Regions from separate parts of the Homo sapiens genome. Here all the other regions are linked to region 3. The links are contacts of gene promoters, found by promoter capture Hi-C in blood cells and fetal thymus (Javierre and others, 2016). All regions are on one chromosome and are shown on one strand. Each heading gives the region's core, a stretch centred on a gene start or on the middle of the fragment in contact. The rest is flanking DNA. Distances are from core to core; before and after follow the strand shown.

What was found. The method cuts DNA at HindIII sites, captures the fragments that hold promoters and counts their contacts. A CHiCAGO score of 5 or more calls a contact.
Region 1: a contact is called between the fragment with the promoter of LINC02314 here and the fragment with the promoter of RTL1 in region 3, in 2 of 17 cell types (M1 macrophages and M2 macrophages). The highest score is 6.7, in M1 macrophages.
Region 2: a contact is called between a fragment that was not itself captured here and the fragment with the promoter of RTL1 in region 3, in 1 of 17 cell types (M2 macrophages). The highest score is 6.7, in M2 macrophages.
Region 4: a fragment that was not itself captured here is called in contact with the fragment with the promoter of RTL1 in region 3 in 1 of 17 cell types (M0 macrophages); the score reaches 5.2 in M0 macrophages.
Region 5: a contact is called between a fragment that was not itself captured here and the fragment with the promoter of RTL1 in region 3, in 1 of 17 cell types (naive B cells). The highest score is 5.6, in naive B cells.
Region 6: a fragment that was not itself captured here is called in contact with the fragment with the promoter of RTL1 in region 3 in 10 of 17 cell types (M2 macrophages, erythroblasts, naive CD4 T cells and 7 more); the score reaches 8.3 in M2 macrophages.
Region 7: a fragment that was not itself captured here is called in contact with the fragment with the promoter of RTL1 in region 3 in 15 of 17 cell types (naive B cells, naive CD4 T cells, total B cells and 12 more); the score reaches 17.2 in naive B cells.

The regions. Positions count from the first base shown.
Region 1 is chr14:101,440,655-101,443,354 of GRCh38, reverse strand. LINC02314 (long intergenic non-protein coding RNA 2314) reads right to left here and starts at 1,279. Exons shown (of 2, transcript NR_135240.1): 1 at 1,098-1,279. The HindIII fragment of the contact is 14,900 bases long and covers 1-2,700 here.
Region 2 is chr14:101,415,435-101,418,134 of GRCh38, reverse strand. No RefSeq gene overlaps it. Among named protein-coding and RNA genes, the nearest start is that of LINC00524, 8.9 kb to the right of the region's middle. The HindIII fragment of the contact is 1,432 bases long and covers 666-2,097 here.
Region 3 is chr14:100,902,460-100,905,159 of GRCh38, reverse strand. RTL1 (retrotransposon Gag like 1) reads left to right here and starts at 1,438. Exons shown (of 4, transcript NM_001134888.3): 1 at 1,438-1,555; 2 at 1,774-1,869. All of the region lies in intron 5 of MEG8 (maternally expressed 8, small nucleolar RNA host gene), which reads right to left. The HindIII fragment of the contact is 7,837 bases long and covers 1-2,700 here.
Region 4 is chr14:101,461,924-101,464,756 of GRCh38, reverse strand. It overlaps LINC03117 (long intergenic non-protein coding RNA 3117), which reads left to right. Exons shown (of 4, transcript XR_944220.2): 4 at 1-614. Among named protein-coding and RNA genes, the nearest start is that of LINC03117, 12 kb to the left of the region's middle. The HindIII fragment of the contact is 2,097 bases long and covers 429-2,525 here.
Region 5 is chr14:101,519,793-101,522,630 of GRCh38, reverse strand. It overlaps LOC105370673 (a long non-coding RNA gene), which reads left to right. Exons shown (of 7, transcript XR_944222.2): 7 at 1-928. Among named protein-coding and RNA genes, the nearest start is that of DIO3OS, 39 kb to the left of the region's middle. RefSeq lists an enhancer at 1-361. The HindIII fragment of the contact is 5,992 bases long and covers 1-2,838 here.
Region 6 is chr14:101,655,573-101,658,272 of GRCh38, reverse strand. The region is part of intron 1 of LINC02320 (long intergenic non-protein coding RNA 2320); the gene reads left to right. Among named protein-coding and RNA genes, the nearest start is that of LINC00239, 74 kb to the left of the region's middle. The HindIII fragment of the contact is 3,632 bases long and covers 1-2,700 here.
Region 7 is chr14:101,624,362-101,627,061 of GRCh38, reverse strand. No RefSeq gene overlaps it. Among named protein-coding and RNA genes, the nearest start is that of DIO3, 64 kb to the right of the region's middle. The HindIII fragment of the contact is 4,222 bases long and covers 1-2,700 here.

The DNA of each region.
Region 1 (2,700 bases), core at 30-2,529, 540 kb before region 3:
CGGTCAGGCCGGTCTCAAACTCCCGGCCTCAGGTGATCCGCCCGCTTCGGCCTCCCAAAGTACTGGGATTACAGGCGTGAGCCACCACGCCGGGCCTTCCCTAGGTTCTTAAATAACTGAGGAAGAATAACGAAGACCCAGGAAGAGATTCCAAAGAACACATGGCTAATTCACAGATAAGGGAGAAACACAATGTTTAAGAAATTCAGTAGCACCCAACAGCAGACTGAAAACAAGTTGGGAAGTGGACTCTCTCACGGAGCTCAAACACTCAGGCAGCATTTGCATCTCAGAAGTAATTTTTGAGAATTCATTTGAAGAAGGAAGGATTTTCCTTTCCTTTCCTTTCCTTTTACAGGATGGTTCCCCCTAATGAACTGTTTTAAGCGGACGAAAGAATTCATTTGGCACACTCTTGCTTAAAACCCACAGGAAAAAAAGCAAAGTTCTCTTAAGGATGTCAGCTCCAGACTAGAGCAGTCCGTTTGAAAAATCTTGGTTTTGAGAAAGTGGCAGAATTACATAATTATTCACAACTCATAAGACATTAAAATACTTCTTCCAAATATGAAGTTGTGAGATAACAAAAACCACAAATTCTAGACTTGCGGAGGGTGTGTGCATCTTTTACTCTCCCACACACAAACCCACATCAAAGAGTCTGGGTGGCGCTGGGCCGGAACTCGTGGCCGCGCTCGCCTTGGTGCGCCTGGGCCACAGGAGGAGGCTGCTGGGGCCGCTCTGCCGCCGCACCTCCCTGAAGGAGATCCGGGGGCAGTGGGGATGCTAAGGATGCAGCGCCGGAGAGGCAGGTGGCGGCCCCTGCGAAGAGGTGGTCCCCGCAAAGCACACGGAGACCACGAGGTTCCTTGTCGCCCACTCACAGCAATGCTGCACGAGGTGAGGAACGACCTGGAAGAGTCCCAAAGTAAAGGCATCGGGTGATGAGAGGAATCTGGGGGTGGAGAAGTGGTCAGACGAGCCCCAGGGCTCTGTCATTCTGGAAGGGAGCCCCTGCCCTGTCGTTCTGTGTGGGCATAACTTTGAAAATCAGGGCACTTCATTTAACAAGACTCATTTTTAAAAGCTCATGTTACCTGTTGAAAACCCAAGGGAGACTGGCCTTTGGCGGATGGATTAAGCGCCGCTCATTCAGTTCCATTTTACGGAAGGACCTGCCTCAGCCCCGTATGAGGCTGCGGGGATTCCAAAGTAAAGTCAAGGAGATGGGGTTCCTGCCTGCAAGGAGCTTCCCACCTAGCAGGGCCGTCCGGTGGGCAAACTGTGGGCACTGGATGAGCAAATAGTGCATTTTGCTGACGACAGGAGACGCAGGTGGCGGGGGGGTGCCCAGGAGCCCGAGAGGAGGGGTGTGGTGGAGGGCGGGAAAGGAGGGGTGGGGTGGAGGGCAGGAGACGAAGGGTGGGGTGGAGAGCGGGAGAGGAGGCTGAGCCCTGGAGCGTGGAGTGGGCATGGGCCAGGGACACCGAGAGAGCAGCCTGCGCAGAGACGATGGGGCAGCAGACAGGCCTGTGTGTCTGAGGAGGGGAGCCTCCAATGGAGAAGGCTGAGGAGTGGGTGCAGGCAGGAGACTGTTGAGACTGGCCGTGGGGAACCGCAGATGGGCGTCAGCTGGGGAAGACAGTCTAGCCGCACTGGAGAGGCAGGACTGTGGGGTCAGACGAGGGTGGGGCTGGCCTTCTGGGAGAACCCCAGAGGCTCAGCAAGAGGTACCACAGGGCTTGAGCTGTTGAGACGGAGAGAAATGCTGAGGATGTGGCCCGGACAGGGCCCAGAGGGACCCGGGCCTCCCTGCATAGGTGCTTGGCAGTGCCCTCTCAGTGGTGGTATCAACTCCTGGGCGAAGGCGAGAAGATGGCTGGTGAATACAGCCTGCAGGCAGGCAGCATATTTAATAAGATTAGGACTTGGGAGAAAAGTCCTGGGCTTGTAGGTGGGAGCTGAGGCCACCGCAGGGTGGGCGTTCCTGGACAGTGGGTATTTAGAGAGCAGAAGAGACCGCAGGAACAGCCCGAGATGACCCAGCCTCTAGAGGTGGGCTCAGGAGGTGGGGGAGGAGCAGCCGGGAGGGTGGGAGAAGCCCCCATGGGGAGCGGCACCACCACAAGACTGAGGCAGTGGTGGGAAGGCCACGGAGACCTCCCAGAAGAAAGGGCTGAAAAGTCTGTGGAATCCTCTGAGTCAGAAGGTCCTGGGAACCATTGCCCAAGCAATTCCTGAAGGCAGAAAGAAGCCTCATTGCATCGGGCTAAAATGAATGGAGCTGGAGGAGCGGGGATCTTGGAGGACCGAGTCTGTGGCTGACTCATTTCAGGGTCCACTGTAGTGCTTGGCACACAGTGAGTGCCCAATCCATACCTTCTAATTAGAAATATTTCCCTCTATTTCCACAGACCTCCATTAGCAATGCCCTTTCAGCAGTGTTAGCTTATTTAACATTTATAAAAGCATGTATCCTCGAAACAGGAGACAGGCTCATGAACTTGACCAAGGAAGAGCAAGTGATCAACTGCAGACCCATCCAATTGGTGTTTTTCCATTTTTCTCGTTGGTTGTCATAGCCTCCCCTGCCGAAGGCATCTTATCTTTGCTTGCATGTTAACTGCCTAAGGCACAGAGTTCAAAAAGCAATTTCCATCTCATGCTTTGAATACCTTCCATGTGCCAGAACCATGAGGG
Region 2 (2,700 bases), core at 132-2,631, 510 kb before region 3:
CCTTACTTTTAAATTCTCGTTTAATAATTTTTACATTTGGGTCATTTTAGAATTGGTCTTCATCTATTATTTTTCCCTTGTGGATAGGTCATTTTCTTGTCTCTCCTCTGTTGTGTAATTTTGGATCGTATCCTGGACATTGTGAATGCCATCTGGATTCTGTTATATTTCTCGGAAGAACACTGATTTTTTCAAAGGGCAGATAATTAATTTGATTGGACTCAAACTGAAAACTCTTTCCCCTGGAGCAGTTTGAATTTTAGTTCAGTTTTTTACACTTAGTTTAGCTGCTTTGAATCCACCTCTCACATATAAGGTTCAGATTTCACTTAGAAAATTTGGGGTGCTTCTTCTGTGCTTGTCTCTTTTCCAGAATTACTCCCTCATCCTCCAGTGACCCTAGTTGTTCTGAACTCTGTTGTCTTCAGCCCAGAAAAACAAAACGTTTTCTTTTAGAGATTCACTCACTTACATGGTGACAACTTTGACATGCCCTCAGGCTAAAAGCTATAAAAATGGGAATTTCACCTCTTGGCATTTTTTTTCCTCTAGCTTGCTGCTAGAGTCTTCCTGCTTTTTACTCACAGTCTAGTGAACAGAAGCCTTATTTTATATTTTTATCCAAAGTTGATAGTGGTTATCTGCAGGAAGGTCTAGGAGAAGCTTACTTGGCCATATAAGAAGAAAAATGACCCCACCTTTTCTTGAGGTTATGTGCATTTTATTATTAGAGAACCTGCGCGGCATGTTTTCTTCTTAAAAACAATGCCTAAACTCCAAATAGATCAAGGTCAAAGGAAGCGAGGAGTTCAACATGACATCAGTCCCGTTTTCCAAGTCCTGGCCCACTTTGGTTTTTATAAGAAAGATAGAAAATAGACTTTTTTTTCAGAATTTACAAAATTTTCTATTGCTTGGTAAATCTTTATTGAATTATACATTAGATCATAATATGGGCATCTTCTATATCATAAAATAGTTTTTAAAATGCAGTTTTTGATGTCTACATACCATTTCATCATATGTTTTATGTTACTTAGCTATTTTCTCATTGTAAACTTATATAGTTTCTATATTTCTGCCAGCATCAGTTACTATTCCAGATGTTCAAACATCTTTAAACATAAACCTTTGATGACATATTTGACTACAGAAGGAACCCTCATAATCACTGTTTCCCTGCATTGTTTTGCTGGATTCGCTGACGTCTTCTATGCCTTCGGTAAATATGCCGCTTGCATCGGGAAGCCTCAGTCTTCCTTCTCCCACTATTTGGAATATGGGCTTACCAAGAGTTAATTACCGTGTTTGTTCTCAAACCTGTTTATGACAGTTGTTGTGATGTCATTGGTTGGAATACTAACCTGTGAAATATGAGTGAGAAAAGAAAGAGGGTGGTTGCTTCCATATAAACTATAAAAACTAAGTAGAATGCTTTGGGGAGATGCAATAAAGTGAAGTAATAATACAGTTGCTATAAAACTAGATTATGAGCCAGGAAACTGAACAATTTGAGAAAATAAAATGGTAAAATGGAGAAAGTGTCTACTGTCACATTGTCCTCCAAATATTTAAGTTTGTGTTCCACTTTAAAGAAACCAAAACTCAAAATTAAGAGCATGAATTATATAGGCGTGTTTTGTGCAAGAAAGAGGGCACATAATTCCAATCAGAACATGAGTGATACTCAGAGAAGAGCCTTGGTCCTTTATTGCAAGACTGGTGAGAAAATTCATATTTTTATATTGTAACTTATAACAACGTATTTATGGTATATTTGCACCATTGTTTAAGATTTCCCTATTTAACTGGCTTTTCAATGAGCTGGGCAGATTCTCCAATTGCTGGTCCCAAAAGCATGAAAAAAGGATACTTTAATTGTGTTTCCTCAGGAGTCTTAGAAATGTAATTACTTTGTATAGTTTAGACTATTGTAGACTACTAATCCCTATTATCTAATTTCCCACTTTAATTGTATTTCCTCAGGAGAGATTCCTAGAAACATAATTACTGTGTATTGTTTAGACTATTGATACATATTATTTAATCTCATAGTAGTGAGGTTGTATCAATTTATGTTCTCACATAAATTAAGCTTTAAAGTTTGTGCATGAGCCACTAATGTCTTCTCTCCAGCTTCAACCAGCAGTTATACGGTAGACTGGGAGACTGGGTGACTCGGCCTGAAACTTCTTGAAAAATCTCTAAGGCTGTTCTTTGTTCCAATGAAATGGATTGGATTCCTTCTCTGTCGATACTGGACGTTTTTGTGTGAATTCTAGCCTCAGAATAAAATCCTAACCATAAAAACATAGAGATTGTTTACTAAACACAGCCCAAACTTCATCTATTGCTTTATAATATTCAGATGATCATAACTTTTATATGCTAGAAGGAACCATAGGGATCAGCTTAGTAAACCCTTTCTTTTATAATTTGAGTCCTGGAATGAGGCATAGAGAAAAGTGTTGTCTTCCATCCTGAAGCTTAGTGGCATCTCAGCGGAGCTCAGAGCTCAAGTCTCCGGACTGCTGTCTACTGACTCTTTTGTGTATATCATGTTGCTCTGGACGGCGAAGAGAAGCAATGCTAAAATGTACCACATGAAGTTCACATTTCCAAGGGGGGGCGGGCTGTGCAGAGTGTTGTCAGATAATGTCTATAATGTAAATCTACAATATGAGCTAACATTTAATGAAT
Region 3 (2,700 bases), core at 189-2,688:
TTTTTTTTTTTTTGGCTTTTTTATTTCTTTTGGAAAGATAAGAGTTGATGCTTTTACCCTAAAACTGTGTGCCAAGCCGCTCTGGCTATCCTCAGCCCCACTCTTCCCCTATCTCTGTAGCCCTCCTTTCCGTCCTTCATAGGCTGCAAGCTGACTGGCGCCCGACCCCAGGTCCACACCCACCTCCCTCTACCCCCTGGTCCATGCACCACTCCCGGCCTCCTCCCCCACTCTTCTCTTTCTGGCCCCGCTGCAGAGTCTCGGGCCCCTCGGCTTCCTGGGCGCCTGGCCACCACGCAGCGCCTGGAAGTGCTCCCTCCCTCATCTCTCGTTCCCCACTTTGGAAAGCCGGCCACCGGACAGGACAGCTCCCGGGACAGCTCCCGCAGCCTGCTGCATTGCAGCGCAGCCGTCTGTGAGGGAGGGGCGCAACCTGCAGCCCCCGCCCCCCGCCCCGACCACCCCCGCCCAGCAGCCCCCAGCCCCGGCACGGCCGGCTCCCCCGCCGCACCGCACGCATCTGTCGCAGTTAAAAGCGCCGCTGCCAGAGCAAAAGCGCCGGTCCCTCTTGACTGTCCCCCTCCTCACTTTTCGGGCTCAGAAATGTGGCCCAGGCAGCCCCCTTGTGGCACGTGGGGGCGCCACAGACTCTTGGCTGGTGTCTGAAGAATTCAGACTGTCTGATTCCACCGCACCGTGAGTTGGCACAAATCTTCGGTGGCCCAACTCCTACCCGATGCAGAACTCTGCTCAGCGGCCTCTCTGAGTGGGGGGCACCTCTCCCCTCCCCTCTCCCCGTCCACACCTCTCCCTTCTCCCTCCAGGGAGGAAGCGAAGGAACTCTCCTGTTGAATATTGCTCTGACAAGCAGACAGGTGTCTGGCAAACGTGATTGGGGTGGTGGGGGAAGGGGGGGGCCAGGAGGGTGGTGGGAATGGGGGCTTTTCTCGAAATGACGTTTGGTTTCCATCTCTTATCTCACAGATGGGAAACCGAGGTGCGGGGAGGGCCATAGTCCCTGTCTGTGTCAGAGTCAAGGCTGGAGATCCTCCTCCAAGTCCAGCCTGGGGCATTTCCCTGAGGTGCCGGGGCACCCTTAAGACGTACCCCTCTTCCCCCTCCCACTTGTCCAGCCCCTCCAGATCTGGTTCTCCCCGTCCGGAAGCCCTGGAGGGCCCCTGGATGTTCTCTGTCCTCTCTAACTCACTGTCCACACAAACAAGCCCAGCCCCCTCCGTCTCTATCTGCAATCTACTTGCAGACAGGCAGGGCCCTCTCCACATCAGGTTAATAATGCCATTTTCATAAGCCTCTGCCCATAGGTGCTACCACCTAATTTTGAATCTGCCCTTCAAACGGATTGGGCCACAGAGGAGCTGGGATCTCAAGCACCGCTGGGAGGTGCTTATAACTAATCAATCCGTCCCCTGCCCACCCACACCCCCCCAGCACTCGGCACAGCCTCGCTGAGCAGCCTTCAGCAGCAGGGTGTGGTGGGGAGCCTCGGAGAGTCTGGGGTTCCATCCTGGCCCAGCCTCACACCAGCTGAGAGACGGTGAGTATAGGACTTTGCCTTTCTGTGCCTCAGTTTCCTCATCAATCTAATGGGGCTCATGAGACCAGTGTGCAGGGTTATTGCCCGGGTGAGTTCTTTGCAGACAGCCCAGTTCGGGACTTGGCTCCAAGACGGGGCTCCATAAATCTCCATGCCTGCACCCCCTCTTGATCACCTCAATTTCCAGTGTCTTATTCCCTGTTTGTTTCCCCCACCAGACCGACTGAGCTTCGAGGACAGGAAGCCACCGGCATCACTAAGCCACCGGCATCACTTCATCCCCAGCCTCACGCTTGGGACTGGGCCCGGGGAAGGTAGGTACACTGTGGTGGCTTGGAGAATGAGTGCATGGATGGATGTCTGTCCCATAGTCTATGGGATGCCCGGACCCCGCTGAGTTTCTCCTCCCCAGACCCCTGTCTAAGCTGGCCCTTCAAGGAAGCCGCCGGGAAAAACTGTTCCTTTATGCCTTCATGCTTTACCCCTCGTGCTGTTATATACAATGCAAATTCTCGGTCTATTAAATGCAGATGTGGGCTCTGCATGTCATTTATGCTGCCTGCTGCATCTACTGTGAGTTCCACAGGCCGGGGGCTGCCTCCGGCTGACTTGATTTGTGCGATTAAGCCAGCAGAGGGGACTCTGCCAGGAGAGGTTCCCGTTTGTATTGGGAGCAGGGTCTTGAAAGGCCAGGCTGTTTTCTCTCTTGCGACACTTGTTACATACCTCTCTCTCCCTCCCTGGGTCCCACCGTCTACTCCACAAGCATTTATGAAGTGTCTGATGTGTGCAAGCCTACACTTATCTCATTTAGTCCTCACTTCACGCCAGTGACGGAGAAACTCTCATCTCCATTTCACAGGGGAAAAGCCGAGTCTGAAAAGTAAAGGGAATTGTCTTGCAGCTAGAGAGCAGGGAGTCAAGCCGGTCTGCCTGGCTCGGGAGCCCCCAGCCCTGCTGTGGCTGCCTACTGCTGCTGCTGCTGCTGCTGCTGCTACTGCAGGGCTGACCAGGGCTGGCCGGGAGGCCAGCAGCTCCTGCAGAAAAGGCAGGGGGCTGCATACAGAGCGTTCTCCCTAGCAACTGGAAAAGGGGCCATAGAAAACCCAAGAGGGCTGAGAAGCCGCTCAACAGATAGACATGGA
Region 4 (2,833 bases), core at 228-2,727, 560 kb before region 3:
GACTGGGGAGGCAGAAATGGCCCTCCGTTCTTTTCTGTTTCTTCTCACGCCTCCAGCCCCTTGCTGCAGCCACACTGGCCTCAGTTACACTGGCTCCTTCCTGCTCCTCATCTGTACAGGGCCAGGTCCTGAATTAGGGGGGCCTTTGTACATACAGGCACCAGAACATTCTTCCAGAGCTTCACTGGAGCCTTCCTCTTCAGCATGACCGTCCCTGGCCACCTGATCCAGAGCTGGCGGCTCCCAGGCATAGCCCATCCCTGCTGCGGCTCTGCACTGCCCCAGTCCTCACCTGCATGCAGGGGACTATTCACATGCTGACCGTCTGTCCATCTCCCGTAAGAACGTCGGCTCCTTCCACGTCTGCTGGGCGTGGAGGATCCCTCACAGCCTCCCCGACCTCAGAGCCATGAGAGACTTGCAAAGCTTGAAACAAACTCTGAAAGGACTCTTCACAGATAAATTCCTCCAGGTGCATGTTTCAAACAATTTTATTATCTAACCCAAGAGTAAGTTAGCAATCGATTTCCTAATCTTTATTGATTGGCAGTGGGCAGGCTAGTGTGATTAAAGATGTGAGAGAGACTTGCCAAATAAAATGCATGAGCAGCCTTCATGAGCTTAGCTCCAATGTGCAGAGTGATAGGGTCAGGGAAGTGTGTGTATGTGTGCATGATTGTGTGAGATCAGGGTAGTGTGTGTGTGTGTGTGTGTGTGTGACATCAGGGCAGTGGGTGTGTGAGAGAGATCAGGGCAGTGTGTATGTGTATGTGTGAGATCAGGGCAGTGTGCGTGTGTGTGTGTGTGTGACATCAGGGCAGTGTGTCTGTGTGCATGAGTGTGTGAGATCAGGGCAGTGTGTGTGCATGAGTGTGATATCAGGGCAGTATGTGTGTGTCTGTGTGTGTGTGTATGATATCAGGGCAGTGTGTGTGTGTCTGTGTGTGAGGTTAGGGCAGTGTGTGTTTGTGTGCATGAGTGTGTGAGATCAGGACAGTATGTGAGAGAGAGAGATCAGGGCAAAGGGCAGTGTTTGTGTGAGATTAGGGCAGAGTGTGTGTGTGTGTGTATGAGATCAGGGCAGTGTGTGTGTGTGTGCATGAGTGTGTGAGATCAGGGTAGTGTGTGTGTGTGACATCAGGGCAGTGTTTGTGTGTTTGTGTGAGATCAGGGCAGTGTGTGTGTGTGCACGAGTGTGTGAGATCACGGAAGTGTGTGTGTCAGGTCACCACAGTGTATGTGCGGGTATGCGTGTGTGTGTGCACAGGGAACACACGGACAGCCATTCCAAGTACACACTCTCCTTGGGTAAATCTGTGAGTAATCATTGCTCCAGCAGTGAGAGCCCGTGAGGGTGGTGCAGGAAGACTGTGGCCTGCCTCCTGAGGGAAGCATTAAAAAAACAGTCAAAGGAAAACGAACTCAGCTCTCCCAGGGTGGAGGACGTGGAGGTGGGCAGCCAGGGAACAAATCTGGTTGCTGCGAGCCTGTCAGAAAGGGCCCTAGTGCCCTGCCAGGAGGAAGGACTCTGGGCCATGAGCATGATGGTCTTTGAAGGCCAGGAGAGCTAGCCTACCCCAGCTCTGCCACTAACTGTGCGACTCACGGTCACATGATGATACCTCCTGGGCCCCATATACTTTATCTGCAAATGGGAAGAAGCACAGCCTCTGTGTCCACAGTGCTGTTGAGGTTGGATCGGGGCTAACTGGCAATCAGACATGTGTCTATAAATGCCGGCGAGCCAGGCAGAGCCCAGGCCTGAGAGTCCACCAGGGTGGCAGGCCTTAATCCGCGCTGCACAGATCTGTGAGTCCCAAAATCTGCAGTGGGGCTTGAGGAGGAGCTGGCCCAAGGAGAAGACTGGAGTGGAATTGGAAGGGGGGAGGAGGATTTTACTGGAGGGCTACTGGGGGGTAGGGGAGAAGACATCTTGGGCCCCAGGGAGGCACAGGATCAAAAGTGACAGATGACTGTCAGGTGCTAGCCTGGGCAGACACATTGAGTCAAGACCTCATCTGGTACATGATCTCGCTGAATCCTCTCTAAGACCCTAGCAGGGAGTTGTCCTCCTCATTCTAAGAGGAAGAAGCAGAGGCTCCAGCTCAGGAGGGGAGGTGGCCTCTCAATGTCATAGTAGGAAGTGGTGGCTAGGATTCCAGCAGGAGGTTCTGACTCCAGGGCTGGAAGTGGGGGCAGGAGATGCAGCAGGAAGGAACTGCGGGTCTCCCTCCACTCAGGCTTAACCCACACAACCTCAGCTCTAAAGGGTGGTCTGCAAGCTCCACGCTGCAGCCCATTAGGATCATGGGATTGTTTCAGGGGTGGCAGCCATTATTTGGAAAAAAGAAATAGGATGAACAGAGATCAGCATTCATGACGTCTAGTAAGAGAACCATTCTTTTGCAAAAATTGTGTTTTGGTTATCTAGGTATAGTTAATTAATTATTTTATACATAGTTGTCTGGCTTGCCGTGGGCTGAGATGCACAATGTATTTCTTACCCCAGCCACGGTCAGCAAGCTTTGAAAGCCACGGCTTTCAGGCTTTCTTGGTTCTGCAGGGGCCTCCGGGCCTTTGTTCTCTGAACAAGAACGCCAGTGCTGGGCACAGGACAGGAGCCAGGACCTGCTGGAGGATTTCCGCAACATGCCCCTTCCCACACATCAACGCAGCTGGCTAGGCAAGGCACCATCTCATGGGGTCCTAGAACTTGGGGTGTCAATGTTTGGCTGCAGCATGGGGGGTGCTAAACACGGAGTTCCAAGGCCCTAATGCTGTGCTCACATGGGCCATGCTTTCCTTTCCTTATACATTGCATAGGGTTCCTTAT
Region 5 (2,838 bases), core at 78-2,577, 620 kb before region 3:
GGGCACAGCTCCTTCTCCTGGCTTTGCCTGGGCTGTGCTTTACACCTGAAGTGGAACCCCTGCCCTTCCATCCTGCTCTCCTTCGAGGCCTGCAGATGCCATGTCCTCCACACCTGAGGATTCTGGAGGCCGGCAGGGCTTCTGGACAAATCTGAGCACTTGCACTCTGGAGGCCCTGCCACAGTGGCTACTGCCCACCACGGACGATTCTGTAGACCCTGCTTAGAAGAGACTGGCCATCCAGAACAGCTCTGCTCCCACCCGGAGACTCAAGACTCCGCTCAGGAGTTCAGACTGTCTGGCAGCAGCTGTGGACTGCAGGGGTGATGGCCGTGGCTGGCACCTGAGGCTGCAGCTCTCAAGACCTTGGTCCGAAGGATGGGGGCTTCCACTCCCAACTGTGAGCTCACTTGCTGGGAAACTTGCCACACCCAGTGTCTGGACATCAGATGAACTTGCAGCCTCTTCCTTCCTTTCCCTTTCCGGTATTTTATTGGTGGAGGGCCATGGGCATCAGACATGTGGGTTTTGGGGAGGGAGGTAACGGCAGAGTGGGGTTGGTGAGTATCAGCCCCTCCTGCGAGCTGTGGGTGCTGCTGTGTGTTAGACATCCCTGCTAGCTCCCTGTCCCACATGAGCCCCCGGGTCCTCACTGGGCACTGGCCTCATTCTCTTCTGGGATCTCCCAGGCCCTGCACACAGTAAGTGGGCAGCACACAGTCACGATGGCCACTTTTAACCCCACCGCCTTGATCAAGACCTGGAGAGCTGGGGCATCAGAGCGGGGGTCGACAGACTCGGAGGCCAACTGGCCTGGGGTTGAGCTATTGTTGCCGACATGGAACCCGATCCAGTGATTAATGGGTCCAGGAAATGATCCCTAGCTCAGCTGGCCAGTCCGGGCAGCCTGGCAGCACGGGCCCACGCGGTTCAGGGGATGGCCAGGAAGGCCTGCCGTGGGAGGGCTGGCGGGGGTGGCTGGCTGAGCTGTGGCTACAATGCTGGGGCCATGGGGGTCTGGGGGGGTATGGACCAAGGGCCCCTTTCCAGGAATGCAATGCCCGGCTCCCTCCCTTCTCCCGTGTCTCCTAACAGGGCCCCCCGCCCCTCTCAGTTCCTCCAGGCTTCCTGCCCACAGCTCTGGACCGCTGGTGCCAATGTGGAGGCAGACAGCTGGCTCCCTAGCCATCCCTGAAACCTGTCCGAGCCCCTCCCCCACCTCCTGATTCTAGATGTCCTCATCCCCACCCCCACGCTCAAAGGCTCCGGGAGTCTCCCGGGGCACCCCTTTGCACACTGTGGAGTCCTGTGGCCACCCTAGTCGCACGCTGTCCATCCCTGGGGGTAGAACTTGAACATCCAGGGTGAGGGGTCCAGGTTCCAGGCCCCGGGGCCAGGCCAGGCAGCCAGGAAGGTGCCCTGAGCTTCGGTCCTTCAGGGCTTGGCACGAGTGAACGTCTTCCCAGGCCATTGTGTTGCAATCCTTCTTGGCCACCGACCTCTGTTTCTCTGGCAATTGCAGGATTTTGCCGCTGTGATTTGGGCAATGTTTTTTTCCTTCTAAATCACCACTCTGGAAGAAGGGACTCAGCTCAGAATGAGCTGGCTTCCATTGTTTCACTTCTTTCCACAAACAGCTCCACAGCTCCCCGCTAGGTACCCGTCCAAGTGTTTCCAGGCATAATGGCAGCCCAGGGGTCACCCTGAGGTGGGGCTGCGGCTAGGGCTGCGTGGTTCCCTGGGTTCTGCAGGTCTGACCTCTTGGGCCTGGAGGTTTCCAGGGCGTAGCGTTTGGGCTGCTTCTTGAAGCCCGCTCTGCTCGTGCGCCTGCTCTGGTTGAGCACTTCCCGAGCGCCTGCTGTGTGCGGGGCACAGGCCTGGCGCTGGTCTCCAGTATCATTCTAGCCCCACCCTGAGCACTCAGAGGAGCAGACACCTGACGAACGAACGGCAGGACTGGGCTTCCAGGCTGGGTCTGCACCCCCAGCCCCCGCCTCACATCACTGCGTGCTCAGGGAAGGCGAGCCCGGCCCTGGTAGCTGGGATTCCTCCCAGGTGCACGTCCTTCACAGTTTCTGAGTCCTTCTCAGAGCCGCTGTGATCTAGGGCGCCGCTGCAGACTCTGAAGTCCACTTAGTGATGACTTATTCCCATTCCACGCATCAGTGGCCTCGGGCTCAGAGAGGTCAAGGTGCTTACACAAAGCCGCACAGCTGTAAGTGATGGGGCAGGGGCTGGACACCAGATCTGTGTGACTCCTGGTGTGAAGAAGGCCAAACTGGGGCATCACCACCAGCCTCTGTCCCAGGTGGGAGGTTGGGGAACAGCCCCGCTGTACGTGAAGGGCCTGGTCATGTCTGGCCTCTCAAGGTGCCCCCCAAAACGAACCCCTCCGTCTCCATCCCACTCAGTTACGGTGGGTGACTGGGGACTTGCGGGGACATGAGCCTGAGCTCATGTTTGGTTCCAGTGATGGGGAAACTGAGGTCAAGATGGAGCAGGGTGGGGTTGTGATGTCCTAGGCCCTTCCAGTGCTGCCGTCCCAGGATCTCAGTGACGTCTTTTTCTGGGCCCCATGATGTTTGCAGCAACACCAAAAGGCCTCTCTGCTCCTTCCTCATGAGATCTTGGGCTCTGTCCAAGGCCAACTGAAGACTGGAAATGGCAAAGAAAAGTTGGTCCCTGTCATCCTCAAGGGGACCCGATGCTGTTGGGATTCTTGGCTCCCCACATCTGCCTTCCATGACCTCGCTGTCACCCCGGTAGTGGACAGAGGGGAAGAGGGAGTCGTGGCAGCACTAGACGCAGGCACCGTCCTCGCCCCCTCACTTCTGCCTG
Region 6 (2,700 bases), core at 45-2,544, 750 kb before region 3:
AGTGTTGCCATCTCGGCTCACTGCAACCTCCGCTTCCCGAGCCAAGTGATCCTCCAACCTTAGCCTCCTGAGTAGCTGGGACCACAGGCATAAGCCACCATGCCTGGCTCATTTTTGTATTTTTTGTAGAGACAGGGTTTCTCCATGTTGTCCAGGCTGACCTTGAACTCCTGAGCTCAAAGTGTTCCACCCACCCCAGCCTCCCAAAGTGCTAGGATTACAGGTGTGGGCCACCACAAATGGCTAGGAAGCCAATTTCATAATGATAAAGATTTCAATTCACCAAGAGAACAAAAACAATTCTAAATGTTAATGCACCTAACAAAAGAGCTCTAAAATGCATGAAGAAAATCTGATAGAACCAGAAGGAGAAATAGACACAGTGAAAATCAGAGATTTCAATACCTCTTTTTCAATAATTTTTGAGAGCAATTAGATAGAAAGTCAGTATGAATATGAAAACTTGAACAATGCTATTGATAACTTGAACTAATTGACATTTATAGGACACTCTACTCAACAACAGGAGGACACACTTTTTTAAAAATACAGAATGTTTACCATATTTGACTATATTGTGAGCTATAAAACAAATCTCAACATATTTAAAATGATTCAAGTCATATCAATACAGGCATACCTCTGAGGTATTGTGGGTTTGGTTCCAGATCACCACAATAAAATGGATATTGCAATAAAGTGAGTCACATGATTTTTTTGGTTTCCCTGAACAAATAAAAGTATGTTTACCCTATTCTGTAGCTTTCAAGTGTGCAATAGCATGATATCTAAAAAGCAATGTACATATCTTAATTCAAAATACTTCATTGCTAAAAATGCTAACTATCATCTGAGCCTTCAGCAAGTCATAGTCTTTTTGCTGGTGGAGGATCTTACCTTGATGTTGATGGCTGTTGACTGATCAGGGTGGTGGTTACTGGCAGTGGTTGTGGCAATTTCTTTCTTTCTTTTTTTTTGAGATAGGGTCTCACTCTTTACCCAGGCTAGCATGCAGTGGCACAATCATAGTTCACTGCAACCTCAAACTCCTGGGTTCAAGGGATCCTCCCACCTTAGCCTCCTGAGTAACTGGGACTACAGGCATGTGCCACTGTGTCTGGCTGATTTCTTTAATTTTTTTGTAGAGTCAAGGTCTCTTTTTATTGTCCAGGCTGGTCTGGAACTCCTGGCCTCAAGTGATATTCCCCACTTGGCCTCCCAAAGTGTTAGGATTACAGGCATGAGCCATTGTGCCTGGCCCAATTTCTTAATATGAAACAAGAATGAAGTTTGTCACATTGATGGACTTTTCCTTTCATGAAAGATTTCTCTGTAGCTTGTGATGCTATTTGGCAGCATTTTACCCACAGTAGAACTTTCAAAATTGGAGTCAGTCCTCTCAAAGCCTGCCACTGTTTTATCAACTGGGTTTATGGAATATTCTAAATCCTCTGTTGTCATTTCAACAGTGTTCACAGCATCTTCACCAGGAGTTATTCCATTTCAAGAAACCACTTTATTTGCTCAGCCATAAGAACCAACTCCTCATCTGTTCAAGTTTTCTCATGAGATCGTAGCAATCCAGTCACATCTTTAGGCTCCACTTATAATTCTGGTTCTCTTGCTATTTCTATCATATCTGCAGTTCCTTCCTCTACTGATGTCTCGAACCCCTCAAAGTTATCCATGAGGGTCGGGACCAACGTCTTCCAAACTCTTGTTTTATTTTGAGACAAGGTCTCACTTTGTCACCCAGGCTGGAGGTCAGTGGTGTGATCTTGGCTCACTGCAGCCTCGACTTCTGGGCTCAGGTAATCCTCCCATCTCAGCCCCCAAAGTAGCTGGGACTACAGGTGCACGGCACCATAGCCAGCTAATTTTTGCATTTTTAGTAGAGATGGGGTTTTACCATGTTGTCCAGGCTGGTCTCAAACTCCTGGACTCAAGCCATCCGCCCTCCTCAGCCTCCCAAAATGCTGGGATTACAAGCACGAGCCACTGTGCCCGCCCAAACTCCTGTTAATGCTGCTATTTTGACCTCTTCCCATGAATCACAAATGTTCTTAATGGCATCTAGAATTGTGAATTCTTTCCAGAAAGTTTTCAATTTACTTTGCCTAGCTCCATCAGGGGAAGCATACCTACGGCAGCTATAGTGTTATGAAACGTGTTTCTTAAATAACAAGACTTGAAAGTCAGAATTACGCTTTGACTCATGGGCTGCAGAATGGACGTTGTCCTAGCAGGCATAAAAACATTAATCTCCTTGTACACCTCCATCAGAGCTGTTGGTTGACTACAGGCACTGTCATGAACAGTAATATTTTGAGAGAAATTTGAGCATGGGTCTCAAGAGTGGCTTTAAAGTATTCAGTAAGCCATGCTGTAAACGTGCTGTCATCCAGGTTTTGTTGTTCCATCTAGAGAACACATGCAGAGTAGATTTAGCATAATTCCCTAGGATTTGCAGAATGGTAAATGAACACCGGATTCAACTCAAAGTCACCAGCTGCATTAGCCCCTGCCAAGAGTGTCAGCGTGTCCTTTGATGTTTCAAGCCAGCATTGACTTCTCTTCTGTAGCTATGAAAGTTCTAGATGGCATCTTCTGCCAATATAAGGCCGTTTCATTTACATTGAAAATCTGTTGTTTAATCTAGCTGCCTTCATTAATGATCTTAGCTAGGTCTTCTGAATAACT
Region 7 (2,700 bases), core at 106-2,605, 720 kb before region 3:
CTGGCCTGCACCCCTGAAATGCAATTTGGATAATATGGAAAATTACTAGGAAGAAAAAACGCTATAATCCCCCCACCTAGAGATAACCAGGCGTTCTGGTATATACCTATTGAGGACTTTTTTCCCAAGCAAATACTCAGAAAGAGACTTCCTCCCAATAGGCATGAGATCTTACTCCACGTGCAGTTTGTCTTATCTTGATTTTTTTCCAGTAATCTTTTAAGAGTTTCCCATGCCATGTAGTCATTCTTCAAAAACCCACTTTGAACAGCTGCGTAATATTCCGCTGTGGAGGAGTGCCCTGCAGTGTAGAGAAATGAGTTATTTACGCTGAAGTCTGTTATTACATGGACATCTTCCCTTTTCTGACCCTGCAATGACCACACTCATAGGTGAGTCTCTCTGGAAATCCTTGACTACCTCCTTAGGGTCCATTCTTAGAAGTGGAATTACTGGGTTAGAGGGCATGAGTGCCTTGAGGGCGGCTGTCTCCCTCTACCTGCATGCCTGCCAGGGCAAACCCGTGCATGCTCCCAGGACAGGCCTGGCAGGGCGTGTCTCCCTGCTGCACCCTTGGTACCCTTGGCAGGGCTAACATTATCCTCTAAACCAGGTCTTTGCAGCACTTACCCTTTTCAAGGTGCTACTGTACCTCTCCTTTAAGGAGGGTTCATCCCGGGAATCGTGAAACACAGGCAGGCTGGTCCTCTTCTCACAACTTCATGATGGATAGACTGAGGCCCACTGAGGCCAAATGCACTTGACTCAGAAGGTTTTAGAATCTTTTTTGGATCCCATTTGGATCCCACACCATTGAAGCCTCCTTGTGTTTCAGATTATGGGGAAAGGCTCAATGATATGTCCCAGGAGAGTGCTGTCTCTGAAGTCTACCCAGCCACAACCCATCCACAAACTCATCCACAAACCTATTCATTCTGGAACTCATCCACTTACCCTCCACCCATCCATTCATCTCAGGACTCATCCACCTATCCATCCACCCATCCATTCACACTGGAACTCATCTATCCATCCATCCATCCATCCATTCACCCACCCACTTAACCATACATCCACCTATCCATCTGTCGATCCATGCATCCATCCATCTATCCATCCATCCATCCATCCATCCATCCATCCATCCATCCATCCATCCACCCACCTACTTAACCATCCATCCACCTATCCATCTGTCAGTCCATGCATCCATGCATCCATCCATCCATCCATCCATCCATCCATCCATCCAATCATCCATCCATCCACCTACCTACTCATCCACTAAAAAATATTGGTTGAGAACCAACTCTGACTCAGGCCCAGGTGCAGGAAATTTTGCATGAACAGCTCTGGCTTTTACAGGCAAGGTAGACCTTAAAGAGCAAGCACAGTTGCAGTGACTCATCTGCAAGGTGAAGGTTAGGTATTATGGGAGCACAGGACAGGGAGCTCAGACCTTCCTGAGAAGGGTGGACCAGGCCCCACTGGCACTCTTTGTGTGACCTTGGTGGAGTCCCTGCCTTTCTCCTGCCCTGCTCCCTATGCTGAGCCACAGAGGAAAAGCCATAACTTACATATTGGCTAGAAAGCATAGTTGGCCAGGGGGAAGTTGGCCACTTTCTGGGAAGCAGAAAGTGGGCAGGGAGGCCCAGCCCCTGTGCTGACATCTGTGTGGCAGTTATTCTCAGGGGTCTTGAGAGAATTAGAACAAACACAGAGGTCAGTGCCAGGCACCACTGTCACGGGGCCATGAACTCTTCATTGTTATTGCTTATTATTATTATTAGTAGTAGTAGTACTAACACTTTCTGAGGTTTTTTTCATCGGCCAGGCATCATGCTGAGAACTTTCAGATATTGGTTCATTTAATCCTCCCTTAGCCCTGTCAGGTAGGCAGAAATTGTTACTCTCACTTTACAGATGAGAGCATTGAGGCACAGAGTAGTTATGTAACTTGCTCAGGGTCACAGCCAGTAGGTGTGCGCAGCCTGTGCCTTGTGGCTTTGCTGCATGCCCTGCCCTTCTTGTTCTTGTTACTGCAGGCACCTACAGTGGGGCATTTAGGGAGCCTGACTTGCCCAGGGACCCACTGAAGAATCCAGGCCCCATCCCTAGAGTAGCATGCACAGGAATCTCCCTGCCCTGCCCCGGCCTCTGCAGTGTGAGGTCAGGCGTCTCCTTCCTCCACAGGCCCTGGACTAGCACGCACGGGAGCCTCCCTCCAGGCCCCATCCCTGGAGTAGCATGCGTGGGAGTCTCTCTGCCCTGCCCTGGCCTCTGCAGTGTGCAGTCAGGCCTCCCCTTCCTCCACAGGACCCCATAAAGGGAGGAGGGGAAGCACGTGTGACCCTGCACACTTCTCCCACCCTCTCTGAGCCTTTGTTCCTGAGGGGCCTCGGGGGAAACCATGGATGTGAAAGAATGCTGCGGAATGCAGCGCAGGAGTGAGGCTGCAATGGTCACTCGCTCACTCAGTGGGTGCACATGCTCTGCCCTGCTCACAGCAGGCCCCTTCTCGGCACTGGGGTTCCAGTTGTGAACAAGAAGGTCAGAATCCTGATCTCAGGGCGCTGACAATCTAGAGAGGGAGGCAGACAGTGAGCAGTGCGATCATGACCGAATGCAGGGTGAAGGTGCAGTGCTGCGGAGAAAATCTGGGTGACGGGATGGAGACTAACGGGAAGGGGGGTCCCACAG